2 separate regions of the Homo sapiens genome follow, and region 1 is linked to region 2. Evidence: promoter capture Hi-C in 16 types of primary human blood cells and fetal thymus (Javierre and others, 2016). All regions are on one chromosome and are shown on one strand. The core of a region is centred on a gene start or on the middle of the fragment in contact, and the rest is flanking DNA. Distances in the headings are between cores, read along the strand shown. Region 1 has its middle 91 kb from the start of RUNX1T1. Region 2 holds the start of LINC02906 (long intergenic non-protein coding RNA 2906).

Region 1 (3,347 bases), core at 105-2,604, 970 kb before region 2:
ACAAGCAATCTTACATTATTTTCAATGAATTTCTACATAAGATGAGAGAACAGTCATGCTTGAAGCTTGTTTTTGTAACAAATTATGAATAGGTATTAAAATAAATGCTTATTATCATAGCTGGAAAAGATCCATTGCATATGGATGTTCAAATTGTTCCATATTATCTAGTTTGATATATAAAATCTTGTGATATCAGTAGAACAGGTAAAATTAGTCCTCATTTCATAGATGAAGTAAAATTTGAGTTTAAATGACTTGCTCAAGTCAAACAATTGGCTACTGAATAAGGAAGCAGGGACTAAAGGCCAGGTTTGCTGACCTTGGTTTAGTAAGTTTCATTTCCATTATTCCACCAGGAAATTTACATATAATTAAATGTACTTCTTTTAGTATACTTTGTTTTCTGAAAAAGTTTGTGTAGAATTGGTATTATTATTATTATTATTATTTGAGACTGAGTCTTGCTCTGTCACCCAGGCTGGAGTGCAGTGGCGCCATCTCGGCTCACTGCAACCTCCGCCTCCCGGGTTCAAGTGATTCTTCTGCCTCAGCCTCCTGAGTAGTTGGGATTACAGGCACACAGCACCATGCCCGGCTAATTTTTGTATTTTTAGTAGAGACAGGATTTCACCCTGTTGTTCATGCTGGCCTTGAACTCCTGACCTCATGATCCACCCTCCTCGGCCTCCGAAAGTGCTGGGATTACAGGCGTGAGCCACTGCGCCCAGCCTATTATTATTTTTAAATGCGTGCTTTTATTAGGTTGGTGCAAAAGTAATTGCAGTTTTGGACCATTAATTTTAAATCATTATAACTAGGCTCAAACACATCTTTATCAATCAAAATAGGAACCATTACAATCAACACATTTTTGAGAAATGTGTGTTTAATCCTGTAGAGTAAAAATCCATACTTTGAGGTTCAATGAACTCTTGGTAAGCATTTTCTGCATTATGCTGGTTGTGGAAGTGTTTTCCCTGCAAAATGTTGTGGAGGTGCTTGAAGCGGTAGTAGGCAGCCAAAGGTTAGGTAAATATGGCAGATGAGGCAAGATTTCGTAGCCAAATTTGAAGCGTTGGTTGGGCAACGTGCGGTTAGGTGTTGTTGTGGAGAATTGGGCCCTTTCTGTTGACCAATTCTGGCTTCAGGCATTGCAATTTTCGGTGCATCTCATCGATTTGCTGAGCATGCTTCATGCTTCTCAGATGTAATGGTTTTGCTGGGATTCAGAAAGCTGTAGCGGGTCAGACTGGCAGCAGACCACCAAACAGTCACTATGACCTTTTTTTGGTGCAAGTTTGGCTTTGGGAAGTGCTTTGAAGATTCTTCTTGGTCCAACCACTGAGCTGGTCATCGCTGGTTGTCATAGAAAATCTCCTTTTTTATCATATGTCACAATCCAATAGAGAAATGGTTCATATTGTTGCGTAGAAGAGGAGAAGACGAAACTTAAAAACGACGAAGTTTTTTGATTTTCGATCAGCTCATGAGACACCCACTTATGGAGCTTTTCCACCTTTCCAATTTCGGCTTCAATGATTGCTCTCGATTAGTCGTTATCAACTTCTGATGGCCAGACACTGCGCTCCTCATCTTCAAGGCTCCTAGCTCCTTTGCAAAACTTGACCCACCACTGCACTGTATGTTTATTAGCGGTTCCTGGGCCAAACGCGTTGTTGATATTGCGAGTTGTCTCCGCTGCTTTACGACCCATTTTGAACTCAAATAAGAAAACTGTTCGAATTTGCTTTTTCTCTAATTTCCATAGTCTAAAATAAACACAAATTAAACAGCAAACAATAAGTTATTAGCAAAAATAAATAAATAGAGAGATACCCATTAAAATGATGTATAACATAACCACATCTATTTAAGAGTGTATTCCAATATCAAATGGCAAATTTCAGCAATGCAAAACCCACAATTATTAATATGTTTGCACTCATCTAATAGTTATAGAACCTCTTTCTGAACCTTAAATTTTCTCTATGGCAAGATATTAAGTGAAAAATTATATTTCTGTAATAAATATATGGTTCTGTAGGTTTTGTATTTATTTTCTCTTTAGTGAGCTTAGGTAATTAGTATCATTAGAGGAATTTGTCCATTCATCCAAGGTGTCCAATCTGTGGGCCCAAAGTTGTTGGTAGTATTTCTTTATTATCTTTTAAACATTCATAAGGGCTGTAGTTATATTCCCCTTTTCATTCCTGAAACTTTTTTCTGTATGTCTGGCTATAAGTTTATAATATTTTTGGTCTTTCTAAAGCATTAGGTTTTGGTTTAATTATTTTTTCTCCATTCTTCACTGTTTTCCAGGAAAAAATTATGTTTATCACATAATATTTAATAGAGAACTGTCAAAAGTTGTGTCATGTCTGCCCCACAAGGCAATTGGGAAGGTCAAAATATGATGTTTTACATGCTACAATTTTGAGACATCGATTTAGTTTAATATATAATAATTATTAATTTAGTAGTAAAATCAAATTTAATATATGCAAAATGGTTAATAGTAAAATGGTATTTAAAGGCTTATAATGAAAAACAAGTATTCTCTTTTCTACCCACCACCACCTTGGTTGCTCTCCCAAAAGCAACTACTTTTAATTTTTTAACTGTTTCTCCTATTAGGTACATTAAAGCTTAGCAGTGTAAAAAAATCAAATAACCAGAATAATTCTAAATAGCCCTAACATTACTGAATCTGAAATGATTCAGTGATTCAGAACCTTAGGGCCATTAGTAAGAATATCAATTGTCATTTTATAAAAGTGCTGATCAATACATTTACATAAGACATGGTGGTGGACAACAAAGACCTTTTTGTGTATAGAATTTTTATTTTCACTGAAGACAAAAGTCATCTCTATATCAGGATACACAGAGAAAATTATATTGGCATATACTGTTCTTAGGATTGTCTCAACAGCAAAATTGCATATATCCAATAAATGTTTCCTTAAAGTACATTTTGGAAATCTTTGTCTCAGTAAAGGCGATTCTCTAGTCACATTGCCTAGTCATGGTCTTGTGAGAGTAACAGTTAGTGGATCCAGGCTTTGAACTCTGCTTTATACAGACCTAGTAATCTAGGCAGAGACTGGATTGAATCCTGTTCACAGTAAGCTTTCCGTTGTCCATGGGTACTTCTGGGATCTAGTAAGCAGAAAGGAGTGTAAGGTCTCTCTCACACTATCAAAGTTTTATGCTGTTGTCAACACTACATCTTCAAGTTTTATCTGAAGGGGTAGGGACCCAGTTTCAGGGGATACGTTTTTATCTTGTACAAGATGTCTTATTTTTATTACCTGCCTTGAAATCTTAAGGGACAAGATGTGGGA
Region 2 (3,131 bases), core at 212-2,711:
ACTTTAATCACCATCACTCTAAATGGCAGTGAACAAAAGCCAGGCTGGGCATATTTATGTAGAAATAATGAGGCATATAAATGCAACTCAGTGAAAGCCATGCACATCTTATCTGCATTTGTTCATCAACACACCCATTTGTGTGGAAGGTTACTAAAAAAGACATACTCTTTATAACATTTGTGAGGAAAATTAAAATCATCTTGCAATTGGTCCTCCTCTTTGGTTTGAAATTGTTCCTTCTGAATACCTCCATTCTGATTCAAGATGCTAGCAGAGTGCCTGGCACACAGTAGGAAGATCATAAATATTTGTTAAATAATGTCCATGCCTCCATGTTACATTCTCGTCTGGAAGGACTACTGGCTACACTTGAGTATGTTTAATTTTAACTTTGATTTCAAAGAATCTGTTGATGATTGTCTACATTTACAATCAATGTTGGACAGATTTTATTTACTAGGGGGCAAAAGGGAAAAGGAGAGAAATCTCTCTATTTCTGCCAGCTAACCAAAGTGGGGCAAAGAATGTAATAGATAACTCCTTCTTTCAGAATGGGTCAGTAGAGAGGAAAATCAAAAGAAAAAGCTATAAAGGTGTATTTTACATTCTCTTTTCCCATTCCTTCTTTCATTTTTTTTTTTTTTTTTTTTTTGGAGATGGAGTCTTGCCCTGTCGCCCAGGCTGGAGTGCGGTGGTGCAATCTCGTCTCACTGCAAGCTCCGTCTCCCAGGTTCACACCATTCTCCTGCCTCAGCGTCCCGAGTAGCTGGGACTACAGGCGCCCGCCACCACGCCCAGCTAATTTTTTGTACTTTTAGTAGAGACAGGGTTTCACCGTGTTAGCCAGGATGGTCTCGATCTCCTGACCTCGTGATCCGCCCGCCTCAGCCTCCCAAAGTGCTAGGATTACAGGCGTGACCTACTGCACCCCGCCCTCTCTTCCCATTCTTTATGGCTGAATCATTATCTTTTAGGATGTCAGGAAGCTGATTGTTTCAATTACTCTGATAAAAGAAGGCAAAGAGGAAAAGAAACAACAAAACTCTCCTCTCTTCCTTTTATACCCTTGCTAATGACAAACATTTCCACATGGGCTCTTACAGAATCTTAAGTCCTGATTACATCTGAACTAGAGCTGAATGGATAACATAGTTAAGTTGCTATTATTTTAAAAAGTTACTTGTATTTGCTCTTAAGTACTGGGTAGTCAGAAACCTGCCATTTTATGAATATTGACAATGTGATAAAGGGACAATTCCTCCAAAATAAGTCACAGAGTCCTGAGCATCTTGGAGGGGAAAATGTGGGTGTTTTTGGTGGGTAGAAAATGGATACTTACTTGTCTTTGGAGATCGGGTTCTCTTTGGAGTTCGCATGCTGCTGGATGAATGCTGTCAAAGTCCTGGCCCATGCTTGCTTGCCCTCTAAATCCTCTGCCCTAGCTTCTTGTTGCTTTGATTTTATGTTCTCTCTACTCACATGACTATTTGTCCAGCAGAGAAGCTAAGGATTTGCTAACTGTGAAGAAAAAGATTATGTGTTTCACAACACTGCAAGCCTCGAAACCACAGAAGCAGTGAGCAAGCTAACATTTATTCTAAAGATAAACATGAAATCCAGGTAAAGAAACAAAGCACAATTTATTATCCTATTGATCACTAAGAGACTAATGTCTTTTCCTTTCCTAAAGACATTTATCCAATAAGCTTTGTATACACCACAGCAACAATCTGTAACCCATTACAGAAGTGTCACTAACATAGCGTTAATTACCACAGTATGTGACTTGGAAATGGTATCTTGAGTAAAGTGGGATATTTGGTCCACAGCCCAACATCAGGGTCTTTTTTGTCTCCAGCTTGAGGCCATTCTCCACCTCTGGGTCAGGAAATAGGATATTCTAAGGAGTTAAGAAGTAGGTTCCTGATGTTTCTTCCTTTCCTTTCTCAGTTTATACCTCCAGGTCAACACTCTCATCTGATCTCAGAAGAATTCATCATTTTTTGAGGACCTACTTTGTGCTAGGAACTTTATGTAAATGTGTTCTTTTAGTCTTTATCACTCTGTAATATGTTAGTGTACTCATTTATCGGTGTAATTCTATGTATATAACTCAATAAACTGATAATACAAAAAGAACTTTTAAATTGGTATGCCCACCTCACCAAAGCTCTTTTTATTTAGTCATGAAATTTCATAACTAAAGGAAGTTCACAAATTGAAGACTAAAGATTAAATAACACAGGTAATAAATGACACACAGCATTACCATTAATTGCACAGAGCCACCTTTGCAGCCACTCCTGTGGGAGGTTATTTGTAATTACATTGTATGCTAGACCTGTATGTGAAGTGAACAGACTTTTTCTCACCATCCTGGTCAAAAATATTTTATTTAATACCAGATCTAAATACAGACTATTTTGCTAGATACTAGAGAAGTTTTAAGGCTTTTGTCTAATATGTGAGAACACAAGTCTTTCTCATTTTAGATCAAGCTATTACCTCTCTTCAATTTGCATGTTAGCTTTTAAGAGCACTCTTGGAAATCATAAACGTACCCAGGCACTCTGCCACCATCTACTTTGGTCTGTAGCATGATGGAAAGGAGGGTGAGAATAGGGAAAGTGGATAGATGAGAATCAAAATAGATGATGCTCTATTCTAAATAAATTAGGGAGAAAGAGAATGTAAGAAGAAATTTTAAAAAGTGAAAGGTTAATACTGATAATAATAATAATATCTAATCTGTCAGAGTTTACTATGCAGACACAGTGCTAAATGAGTTATACACATTATTCATTTAAATCCTCAGGATAATCCCTTCATTTAGGTGCTATGATGATCCCCAAATTGCTAATGAGACAGCTGAGGTTTAAAAAAGTTAGTATCTAATCCAAACTAGCTAGTAGATGACATCTGGATTCCAACCCAGAATGCTTGCACCAGTGCTTGCACCTCTAATCATTATGTGTCAGGAAGCAGAAGGAGATAAACAGAACCAGCAATTACTTCATGGAAAGAGCAAATATAAGCCTGTGTTCCTAATGCCACTGGCATACTACAGAATTAGGAGCCAGTATTCAGGAGGGGGCTGATCCAGGCAACTGTCCCATTTGTTGTTTTTG

The links. The method cuts DNA at HindIII sites, captures the fragments that hold promoters and counts their contacts. A CHiCAGO score of 5 or more calls a contact.
Region 1: a fragment that was not itself captured here is called in contact with the fragment with the promoter of LINC02906 in region 2 in 1 of 17 cell types (M1 macrophages); the score reaches 7.2 in M1 macrophages.

What each region holds. Positions count from the first base shown.
Region 1 is chr8:92,193,113-92,196,459 of GRCh38, forward strand. No RefSeq gene overlaps it. Among named protein-coding and RNA genes, the nearest start is that of RUNX1T1, 91 kb to the left of the region's middle. The HindIII fragment of the contact is 2,583 bases long and covers 64-2,646 here.
Region 2 is chr8:93,165,389-93,168,519 of GRCh38, forward strand. LINC02906 (long intergenic non-protein coding RNA 2906) reads right to left here and starts at 1,462. Exons shown (of 3, transcript NR_161372.1): 1 at 1,343-1,462. It overlaps LOC105375644 (a long non-coding RNA gene), which reads left to right. Exons shown (of 5, transcript XR_928417.1): 4 at 1,502-1,623. The HindIII fragment of the contact is 1,956 bases long and covers 1-1,707 here.